3 separate regions of the Homo sapiens genome follow, and regions 1 and 2 are each linked to region 3. The links are contacts of gene promoters, found by promoter capture Hi-C in blood cells and fetal thymus (Javierre and others, 2016). All regions are on one chromosome and are shown on one strand. Each heading gives the region's core, a stretch centred on a gene start or on the middle of the fragment in contact. The rest is flanking DNA. Distances are from core to core; before and after follow the strand shown. Region 1 holds the start of GALP (galanin like peptide). Region 2 has its middle 9.8 kb from the start of ZNF132. Region 3 holds the start of AURKC (aurora kinase C).

Evidence for each region. The method cuts DNA at HindIII sites, captures the fragments that hold promoters and counts their contacts. A CHiCAGO score of 5 or more calls a contact.
Region 1: a contact is called between the fragment with the promoter of GALP here and the fragment with the promoter of AURKC in region 3, in 1 of 17 cell types (neutrophils). The highest score is 5.4, in neutrophils.
Region 2: a contact is called between a fragment that was not itself captured here and the fragment with the promoter of AURKC in region 3, in 1 of 17 cell types (neutrophils). The highest score is 5.0, in neutrophils.

What each region holds. Positions count from the first base shown.
Region 1 is chr19:56,173,890-56,177,384 of GRCh38, forward strand. It overlaps GALP (galanin like peptide), which reads left to right and starts at 2,119. Exons shown (of 6, transcript NM_033106.4): 1 at 2,119-2,173; 2 at 3,181-3,306. The coding sequence starts at 3,220. RefSeq lists enhancers at 1,254-1,804, 1,805-2,355. The HindIII fragment of the contact is 6,092 bases long and covers 413-3,495 here.
Region 2 is chr19:58,428,295-58,432,328 of GRCh38, forward strand. It overlaps a transcript of ZNF324B not described here. Among named protein-coding and RNA genes, the nearest start is that of ZNF132, 9.8 kb to the right of the region's middle. The HindIII fragment of the contact is 1,598 bases long and covers 1,798-3,395 here.
Region 3 is chr19:57,229,380-57,233,136 of GRCh38, forward strand. It overlaps AURKC (aurora kinase C), which reads left to right and starts at 1,644. Exons shown (of 7, transcript NM_001015878.2): 1 at 1,644-1,927; 2 at 2,363-2,408; 3 at 2,654-2,845; 4 at 3,163-3,301. The coding sequence starts at 1,870. The HindIII fragment of the contact is 17,293 bases long and covers 1-3,757 here.

The DNA of each region.
Region 1 (3,495 bases), core at 869-3,368, 1.1 Mb before region 3:
ACAGTGACAAGAGATTGTGCCACTGCACTCCAGCCTGGGTGACGGAGTGAGACTCCATCTCAATAAAAAAAAAAAAAAGAAAGAAATGAGAAGAAAGTGACATTGTGACATTTCTTGCACCACATTTGAGTTTTGCGTGTGTGTGTGTGTGTGTGTGTGTGTGTGTGTGTGTAAGAGAGATAGAGCAAGCTTTGGACCTACCCCGTTTACTTTTCACAAACTAGCTAATGGGCAGTGAGGCAAGGACTTCCCACTGTTTCTCTGACCCTCCATTGGGCTCCAGGTAACCCAGCTTCAAGCTCTCAGCGTCGCCTCCTCAGTCCTGTCTCCCGTGCAGTGGGCGTCACTCCCTCCTCCTTTCTCCTTCCCAGCAAAGCCATTCACACCTTCTTGTCAGTTTGTCTTCTATAAAAGCTTCCCCCTCCTCCTCCTCCCCTGCCCACTCCTCCTCCTCCTCCTCCTCCTCCTCCTCGTTGTTGTCATCCTCTGGATGAGAAGTGAGGGACTTGGAGAAACAGCGGAGGGGGCTCAGGAGCCCACCAGGGTGTCTGTAATCCCCCACGTCGTCTTCTCACTCCATCCCTCTCCTGGGGTCTCCCTTTCCCCTTGGGATGAGAAAGGATGGGGTAAGGGCTGATGGGGATGTGTAAAGACAGGACAGAGATACAAGTGCCAGCCACAAACCGACAGAATGCTGGAAGGACCTTGGAGGCAATGTGTCCTCCACGGTGGAGAGGAGGAGACAGAACCCAGCCAGGACCAGGGCGTCCCCTCTGTCCCTTAGACAGCAAAGGGCAACAGCAAGAGTAAAACCTCTTCCAAGGTTCTTTCCTCTGGAAAGCAGGTGACGTCAGGGCAAAGAGAGAGCGTGCTGCAGAGACAGATAGATCAACACACATGACAGGAGAGAGACGCAGCAACGACACACTCCTTATTCGTTCACCCAACAAGTATTGAGTGAGCTCCGGGCACTGTTTTAGGGGCTGCTGTGAGGTTTCTCATCTTTGGAGCTATTGACTTTCGGGGCTGGGTCCTTCCCATCGGGGAGGCCTTTCCTGAGCACTGTGGGAGGCTGAGCCGCGTCCCTGGCTTCCACCCACGAGATGCCGGGAGTCCCTCCCAAGTCCCAAGTAAAGATGTCTCCAGCCGGGCGCGGTGGCTCACGCCTGTAATCCCAGCACTTTGAGAGGCTGAGGCGGGAAGATCACGAGGTCAGGAGTTCAAGACTAGCCTGGCCAACATAGTAAAACTCCGTCTGTCTCTACTAAAAATACAAAAAATTAGCCGGGCGTGGTGGCGGGCGCCTGTCGTCCCAGCTACTCGGGAGGCTGAGGCAGGAGAATGGCGTGAACCCGGGAGGCACAGCTTGTAGTGAGCCGAGATCACAGCACTGCACTCCAGCCTGGGCGACAGTGCGAGACTCCGTCTCAAAACAAAAACAAAAAAAACGAACAAACAAAACTGTCTCCAGACTTGGTCACATGTCCTGGGGTGAGGCTGGGGCAGCATCGGGGCAGAGTCACTCCTGGTTGAGAGCTTCCGGCCTAGGGACGCAGCCATGAACAAGACACAGTTGACACCCCTCATGGGGTCTCCTTTAGCCAGGGTGGTAGGTGGGGGGCGGGGAGATAGACAGCTCACAAGTAAACAAATAAACAGGGTCTACCGTGCAAGACAGAAGAAATGCAACTCAGTGAGGGAGCTGCGGAGGCTTGGAGGGATTGATGGGGGCAGAGGGGACAGGGCTACGGAGACACCAGTGGCAGGTGGAGACAACCAAGGAAGACACAGGTCAAGGCCCAGACGCAGATAAGAGGGAGGGAGGGAGCCCTCGAATAGCTGCAAAGTCTGGAACAGGACAGCTGGAAGATAAAGGGGCACAGAAGGAGGGGGAAGGGCAGGGTCTACCAGGGGAAACCAAGGCACAGCAGCATTTCCCGCGATGAAGTGTGTGTTTTGACCTCACAGACCAGCGTTTGAAAGCCCCTGGAGTGGATGACTGTTCCCCCACCTCCATCCTCTTCACTCCCTCTCCCTTCTTCTAATCCCCTCCCTTTCCCCCCTCCCTTCTATTGTCTCCTCAGAAGGCATAAAAGCTCAGGGGGCGTGAAAGAGTCCAGGCGCTGGAGCGAGGAGCCAGAGAGAGCTGCGGAGAGCTGCCAGCTGCAGCGGGGTGAGAGCCTAGGCCAGGAGGGCAGAGGGGCGGATCCCAGCTGCACCGGGGTGAGAGCCTAGGCCAGGAGGGCACAGGGTCGGCTGCCAGCTGCAGCGGGGTGAGAGCCTAGGCCAGGAGGGCAGAGGGGCGGATGCCAGCTGCAGCGGGGTGAGAGCCTAGGCCAGGAGGGCACAGGGGCGGATGCCAGCTGCAGCGGGGTGAGAGCCTAGGCCAGGAGGGCAGAGGGGCGGATCCCAGCTGCACCGGGGTGAGAGCCTAGGCCAGGAGGGCAGAGGGGCGGATCCCAGCTGCACCGGGGTGAGAGCCTAGGCCAGGAGGGCAGAGGGGCGGATCCCAGCTGCACCGGGGTGAGAGCCTAGGCCAGGAGGGCAGAGGGGCGGATGCCAGCTGCAGCGGGGTGAGAGCCTAGGCCAGGAGGGCAGAGGGGCGGATCCCAGCTGCACGGGGGTGAGAGCCTAGGCCAGGAGGGCAGAGGGGCGGATGCCAGCTGCAGCGGGGTGAGAGCCTAGGCCAGGAGGGCAGAGGGGTGGATGCCAGCTGCACCGGGGTGAGAGCCTAGGCCAGGAGGGCAGAGGGGTGGATCCAAGCTGCACTGGGGTGAGAGCCTAGGCCAGGAGGGCAGAGGGGTGGAGGGAGTGAGGGGCTCCTGGGAGAGTGATGGGGGGCTTGAAGGGATGGGGATAACAGGAGAAACCCCAGCATTGGTGGCAGGGAAAAGGTGAGGGGCAGGTAAGGGGACGGAAAGGTTTGAAGATGGAGTGGTGGAGGCAGTGGGGCAGAAGGCATGGGCGCTGGGGGACCAGGTCGGCCTGATCCGATGATGGGGGAAGGAGAGGCTTAATTGCTTGCACACGTCCAAACTCCTCAAGATGTGTACATTAAATGTGCGCCATTTTTGTATCTCGATGATGCCTCCATAAAGCTAAAAAATAAATTCCTCTGTCCTTATCGGAAATGCACCTGGCCCCCGCTTCGGAAAATGACTGGCCGCTCTCTCCTTGCAGCGTGTTCCGCAGCTGTAGGCACCTGTCGTCCTGCCTTCGATGGCTCCTCCCTCCGTCCCCCTGGTCCTCCTCCTCGTCCTCTTGCTGAGCCTGGCAGAGACTCCAGCATCCGCACCTGCCCACCGGGTAACGCCTCCCTAAGTTCCTCGGAAACAACAGTGTCCCCAAATCCCTGCCCTCTGGGAAGAGTTTTTAAAAATGCTTCTGGCTTGTGTCAAGGGTCCTGGGGAAGAAGCTCAAATCCTGAAAATATGAGAAGAAATATTGCGTGTCTCTACTAAAAACACAAAAATTAGCCGGGCATGGTGGCACGTG
Region 2 (4,034 bases), core at 1,347-3,846, 1.2 Mb after region 3:
TAGTTTTGGTGAACTGAGTTTGCATTGAAATGTTTTTGGAAATGATTTTCAACATTTATAAAATCACATGCCACATAGAAATCTGAATATTTGGCTCTTCTTGGAAAACCAGGAGATATGGGAAATCTGTACTGACTCCACCATATTGTCTCCCCACCCCTTAAGAGGGACAGACCTGCTTGGTGGCCACCAGAAGTGGAATTATGAAGGCCACGGCCATATGATTCTCAAGAAACCCTGGCTACTCACATAAGCCACTCCAGACCATGATTTCTGTCTTCTCTGTCTTGAGGTGCCTACCTGTGCAGTGATGGCCATGAGATGAACAGCCCAGGGAGTCCACAGGAAATCCACAAAATATTTATTTGAATTTCAGTTATGAGTGACACATAGGTCTGCATGTCCTGAGAAGTTCTGTACACCCTTATCTCACTTGGCCATAGTCATTGGAAGTTTCTGATGTGCGTTTAGAACAGACATGTCCCCTCTTGTCTACCACAGTCTTCTCCACACTTAGAGTTTTTGTACCAATGATAGTTCCCACATAGCCCTGGCAGGTCTGAACCAGTTATGCCTGCCTACTGAGTTTTATATTTCATGAGTCATGAGCCATGGGCAGGTACTGGGGGATGTAGCTGGTAAAGTGGGACATGCATTGGGAACAGAGGACCAAACTTTTGCTGTGGAGGTTCTCAAAGAAACTACCCCATTCTTCAGAGCTAGCTCTGGGCCCACAGGTGACCCTTGGTGTCCAGATCACAAGATTCAGTCCAAGCCTGTCAGTCTTTCATAGGAGGCCTTAGGGCAACAAGACAAATTCAACCAAAACTGGACTGAGCACTCTTCCTGCCCATGCGGCTGTTTGAGACACTCAGTGCCCCCTTACAAAAGCTGTTCTTTTTATATTAGGATGAATTGTTTCAAACCACCTCACCAACTCTGATGCAGGTGGCTAAACATTAAGGCCTTTGTTATCTCAGAGAGAGACAGGCAGATCCAGGAGTGAGTGATTGAGACTAAACAGATCATTCCTAAGTGTCACATGTAGATGCAAACAATGTCCATGAAGAGAAACCTTTTCTTCTATTTTAGATGGAGTCTCACACTGTCGCCCAGGCTGGAGTGCAGTGGCACGATCTCGGCTCACTGCACACCCTGCCTCCCAGGTTCACACCATTCTCCTGCCTCAGCCTCCTAAGTAGCTGGGACTACAGGCACCCGCCACCACACCTGGCTAATTTTTTGTATTTTTAGTAGAGGTGGGTTTTCACCATGTTAGCCAGGATGGTCTCGATCTCCTGACCTCATGATCTGCCTGCCTCAGCTTCCCAAAGTGCTGGGATTATAGGCATGAGCCACTGTGCCCGGCCAAGAAACCTTTTCTGGAAAGCTCCAGAAGACACCAGCTCAGATCTTAGCAAGAATTGTCATACCAAAATCTAAAGCCATCAGTGGGAAAGAAAATGAAGGTACTCAAAGCCTATGTAATTCTCTCTAGAGAATGGAAAAGGGAGTATAGTCTGCTTTCCCTTAGCACAGTGAGGGAGACTGATACATATCATGAGATCTTGCCAGGTGGCAGAGATGAGACAGTATGGCAGGCAGCTTTGGACATGGCTTCCAATGATCTCTGCCCTCTGGTATTCATGCTCTTGTGTAATGCTCTCCCCTTGACTGTGGGCTGGACCAAGTGACTTGCTTCTAACTAAATTTAGCAAAGATGATGGGATCTCACTTCTGTTATTAGGTTACAAATGACTGACTTGTTGGTATTCTCCACTGCATGATCAGCTTGCAAGCTTTGATTGACAAGCTGCCATTTTGGAGAGGCCCATGTGGCAGAGAACTGGAGGAGGTCTCAGACCAACAGACGGGTCCTCAGTCCAGCAGCCCACAAAAAACTGAATGCTGCCAATTACATGAGTTTGCTTGGAAGCAGAGCCTTCCCTAGTCAAGCCTTCAGATGATACACCCCCAGCTGACATCTTGATGTTAGCCTTGTGAGAAACCCTAAAGAGGAGTCAGCTAGCTGCACCAAAGTTCCTGACCTATAGAGACTGTGAAATAGTGACTATTGTTTTAAGCCACTAGGTTTTGAGTAATTTGTTACACAGCAATAGGTAACTAATACAGATGGCTTCTGCAATAGCAGTAATACAGTGCCGCCTAAGATTCTGGGAGCTGTGGCTTTCCCACATTTGTTGCCCATAACTCTCTTGTGAATTCTCTGGTGATTTTTCTTAAAAGGGGGTGTCTATAGCTGAAGGCTTTCCCATTTTCACTGCATTTGTAATGCCTTTTTCCCATAGGTACTTTATATAGCTTTCTCACATAGGAGAGGTGACTGAAGACCATCCCACATTCCTTAGATGCAGGGGTTTTCTCTACTGTGAATTTTTTGGTTATAGATAAGAATCGATTTCTTCTTGAGGGTCTTTCTTCATACCAAGTATTTAAAGATCTCTCTTCAGTGTGGGTTCTTAGGTGGTTGAAGAGGGCAAAAGTCTTCATGTCTTCCCATAGCCACTGCTCTTGAAGGGCTTCTCCCTATCATGGCCTGCCCGGTGTTATCTGATGTTAGAGCTGTGTGGCAGCATCTTCTCACTCAGCTCTTCTTCATGGCTTCCCTGTGCCATGAGTACTCTGGTGATGGAGAAAGGAAGGCCTTTCCACATTCTCTTTTGAGCTTCTCATTATTCTGGTACTCCAGTGCTGGAAGGGGGTAGTTACCCTGGAAAGCCTTCACAAATGCCTGGCCCTTGAGTCCTCTCACTTATGAATTTTGCTGTGCATGAACTGAAAAGTGCTCTTACTGTGAGCCATGTCACATCTGAAAAGGTGGTCTTCACCATAAATGGTCTACTGTTGGTGAAGGTTTGATCCACTCCCTTGTGTGGGGTTTCTACCTGGAGTACACTGCCTAACGTTCAGCCAGGAGTACAATCTTTGGCAGGGCAAGGGTGCCATGGTCAGGGTGAGGAACGACCAGTCATGGAGTACTGGTCCTGTCACATATCCCACTACTGAGCCTGTTAGGTGACATTCACATAGGCAGGGAGAACAGAGAGGGATCTAGGACAGATGTGGAAGCAGCAGTGGCTACTGAAACTGCTGTTCAGTGATGTGAGCCCAGGCCACCCTTCTTTTCTAGAGATGGGGCCTTGCTATGTTGCCCTGGATGGACTCAACCTCCTGGGCTCAAGAGATCCTCCTGCCTCAGCCTCTCAAGCAGCTAGGACTATAGGTGTGCACCACTGCACCTGGCCAGGCCTCTCCTTTATGGGGACTCCTGTTCACATCCCAGCCAATGCTCTCATGAGTACTTCCTTGTATGGGGGAGGTCAAAGAAACAGCAGCAGCTCACATGTGATGATGCTGAAATTACATGGTAAATAAGCTTTTTAAAATAGGTGCCGGCCAGGTGCGGTGGCTCATGCATGTAATCCCAGCACTTTGGGAGTCCAAGGCAGGCAGATCAGGAGGTCAGGAGATCGAGACCATCCTGGCTAACATGGTGAAAACCCGTCTCTACTAAAAATACAAAAAAATTAGCTGGGTGTGGTGGCGGGCAACTGTAGTTCCAGCTACTCGGGAGGCTGAGGCAGGAGAATGGCGTGAGCCATTTAGGAGGTGGAGCTTGCCGTGAGCCAAAATCGCGCCACTGCACTCCAGCTTGGGCGACAGAGCAAGACTCCATATCAAAAAAAAAAGGTGCCAAACACCATATTCTACAAGGTTCTGGATCTCTAGCTCCTTCTAAAATACCAGCTCTGTCAACTGTGTTAAATGCCCCCATCTGCCTGTGCCCACTCTGTTGGCCAGCAAGACTGTGAAGGCATGAAGTGTGTGTTAGTGACCAGAAACCCTGGCCAGACTGCAAAAACCACTTTCCTGGACGTCAGGCTATCACTTCTCTCAGCTCCCAGTTCCTACCTGGGGAGTGATGGGTGCCAAGATACAGTTTGAGAGAGGTGAAGTGAATGTACATGACATTGCATTTATCTGCTTTAACTGTGGCAAAAACTTTAACATGG
Region 3 (3,757 bases), core at 394-2,893:
TAACAATATACACATATATAAAACAGCACTTTCACATGGTTATGAGTGACCTAAGGAAAAACAGAACAGGATGACGTTGTAGTGGGGGCTGTTTTAAATTGACAGTTTGGAGCTGGGCGCAGTGGCTCACACCTGTGATCCCAGTATTTTGGGAAGCCGAGGCGAGTGGATCACCTGAGGTCAGGAGTTCGAGACCAGCCTGGCCAACATGGTGAAACCCTGTCTCTACTAAAAATACAAAAATTAGCCGGGCATGGTGGCAGGTGCCTGTAATCCCAGCTACTCAGGAGGCTGAGGCAGGAGAAATGTTTGAACCTAGGAGGCGGAGGTTGCATGAGCTGAGTTCGAGCCACTGCACTCCAGCCTGGGTGACAGAGCAAGACTCCGTCTCAATAAACAAACAAACAGACAGGTTTGGGAAAGCCTCTGAGAAAGGAATGGTTGGCCTGAGCTAAGCGCCATTACCCTGATCCACCTATTGTAACCACCTAATGGGTTCATTATTTTCCCTGCTCCCCAGATAGAGTCGACTTATCAAGACAGGATAATTGCAATAAAGGGTTTAATTCACATCAATCGAGCTAAATGAGAGACCAGAGTTTTATTACTCAAATAGGTCTCCCCAAATATTTTGAGACGAGCTTTTTTGTTTTTGGGTTTTTTTGTTTTTGTTTTTGTTTTTTTTGAGACAGAGTCTCGTTCTCCTTCTGTCGCCCAGGCTGGAGTGCAGTGGCATGATCTTGGCTCACTGCAACCTCCGCCTCCAGGGTTCAAGCGATTCTCTTGCCTCAGCCTTTTGAGTAGGTGGGATTACAGGCATGCGCCACCACACCCGGCTAATTTTTGTAGTAGAAACGGGGTTTCGCCCTGTTGGCCAGGCTGGTCTCGAACTGCCTACCTCAGGTGATCCGCCCGCCTCGGCCTCCCAAAGTGCTGGGATTACAGGCATGAGCCATCACGCCAGGCCTTCAATTATATTTCTGCAAGATATGTTCCCTGTCTAAAAGAATTCAATTTTTAATGTTTTTGAAACTTATGTGTTTGCTAAACAAATACGTGGGGGCTGATTTTACGATCTGAGGCCAAATCCACAAACTGATTACAGGGTCCAACAAATATTTGGCGAGTGGGAGGAGAGGGGTAAGTGAGCTGGACTGGTGGCGTCCTGGCTGTGAGCAGGCACAGCCGCAGGCTTCAGGGAGCCCCATCGCGGTGACCCTGGAGAGTGGCCTGAATCGGACGTGACCTTGAAGCAAGGTGGTTTTGGGGTCGCCGGCTGCACAAGGCGCGAAGTGGTTTAGGGTCACGGGCTGCACGAGGCTCCAGCACGTCAGGAGTGGGCGTCTGTTCATTCCCACGTGCATCGCGGCTCTCTCCTAGTTGACGCATGCACACCCCGTGGGTGTATGCGTTGTTCATTCCCACAACGGCCATCACCACCTCTCCGCACCCTCTGTCTCCTTCCTTCTCGGGCCTCACCCCTGGCCCTCGCTTTCAGTGCCCAGCCCGGACCGCAGCACTCCAGTTCCGCCCCAACCCGGGAACCCTGGACTGAGGCTCCCGTTTCTGTCCTTTCTATTGGGCGCACTTCCGATGGCGTCAGGAATTTCAGCCAATAGGAGCCAGCCAGGAAGTACCTCTCTGAGCGGTTGGTGCCGGGTATAAAAGAAGGCCGCGCAGCCACGGCTGCTCACGACGCCGCGGATCCCGAAGCCTGTGTAGCAGTGAGACATCAGTGAGGCTGCAGGACGAGCAGGATTGGAAGCGCCCCGGCCAGAAAGTGACCCCCCACCCCTTTCAGGACCCTGTGAACGGGAACAGCCATCCAGAGGGTTCAGGAAGGCGTCCGCGCCCTCACCTCTTCTCCCCATGAGCTCCCCCAGAGCTGTGGTGCAGCTGGGCAAAGCTCAACCTGCAGGCGAAGAGTGTGAGAGCCAGCGCCAGAGAAAGGACGCAGGGAAGGCTGGGGACTGGGCCAGGGGTCGGGTGCACAGAAGACACATGTGTTGACATCTCCCCTCCCTCTCCTCCTCCCCAACGCTCTTCTTTTCTCCCCACTCCCTCCCTTCCCTCCAATTCTTTCTTTCACCTCTCCCTCCCCTACTCTCTCCTCCCCTTCCTTTCTCTCTGCCTCTTCTTCACCTCCTCCTCCCCTCCCTACCTTACCTTACTCTTTCTTCTTCCCCTTACCTCTCCCTCCCCCTCTCCCTGCCTTCCCCTTCCCTCTCTTTCTCTCCTCCCCTTCTTCCCCTCACCTCTCGCTCCCTATTCCCTTCTCTACTGTTCTCCTCTCCTCTCTTTCTCTCCCCTTCTCCTTCCCTCCCCTCTCCCTTCCTATCTCCCTCCTCCTCCTCTCTTTCAGTGGCTACAGCAAACCAAACAGCCCAGCAGCCCAGCAGCCCAGCCATGTGAGTCCCTTGGGATTGGTATCTGGAAAAGGAAGGAAGGTGGGACGTGGGGATGAAGAACAGACTGGGTGTGTGGGGTGCTGGCTCCTGGGAACGAGAACTACTGATAGGGCTGGGTCTGTGTGAGAAGGGAAAGCGGCAGAGGAAGGATACAATGAAAGAGGAAGGGGAGCATTGGCATCCCTGACTTTCCCTCCGCCTACCCTACCTCCCAAGCTGAGGCTTTTTTCTTCCTCTCCTGTCAGGCGGCGCCTCACAGTCGATGACTTTGAAATCGGGCGTCCCCTGGGCAAGGGGAAATTTGGGAATGTGTACCTGGCTCGGCTCAAGGAAAGCCATTTCATTGTGGCCCTGAAGGTTCTCTTCAAGTCGCAGATAGAGAAGGAAGGACTGGAGCACCAGCTGCGCCGGGAAATTGAGATCCAGGCTCATCTACAGTAAGGACAGTCTCTGCTTCCTCTTTCATCTTTGACGTCTGAGCCCAGCATTTTCCCCAAATACTAACCCCAAGTAAACCCTGCACTTGTACCTTGAAGACTTCTCTGCAGTTCATTCCATTTACACTACCTCCTACCCTGGGTCAGACACTCGAATCCTGGTTCCTGTTCTCCGTTCTCCCCTCACTTGCTCCCAGATAGGGCTGTTGTTATTCTGGTCCCAGCATAATTTGCCACTTGTGTGACCAGGCAGTGACGGTGGCATCATATGATAGGCCTCAGGGAGAAATCTGACTCTTCCAACATTAATCCTTCAGACACCCCAATATCCTGCGCCTGTATAACTATTTCCATGATGCACGCCGGGTGTACCTGATTCTGGAATATGCTCCAAGGGGTGAGCTCTACAAGGAGCTGCAGAAAAGCGAGAAATTAGATGAACAGCGCACAGCCACGGTGAGGTGCGGGTCTGGAGGCTCTGGGGTCTCTGAGTTTACTGTGGGCTGGTGGGAGCTCTGTTTGTGGCTGTCAGGAGGGTCCGCATTGCCTTCTGAGAAGTTTACTTCTGAATGTTATTGTGTAAATTTAATATAATGGCACGTATGTTCTACAGCTTTATCCTTGGATACCCTAATTAACCTCATTGTATCTCCAGAATATTAATAAGTACTGCGTATAGGTTTGGATTCTTTGGTTATAAGCAACAGAATCTAACTCCACTGCCTTATGTAAAGAAACATATTGAAAGGCTCTGAAGGAGTTCACTGAATAAATAGCTAGAACTGGCTTAGAGATAGGTACAAAGAGATTTCTAGAGGGTTCCGGAAAGGGAACCATGGCAATGATTTTCCCAGGAGCAATGGTCCAATCAGCTTGCTGTGTCAGGATGAGTGGTCTTCCATCTTTCCTCCT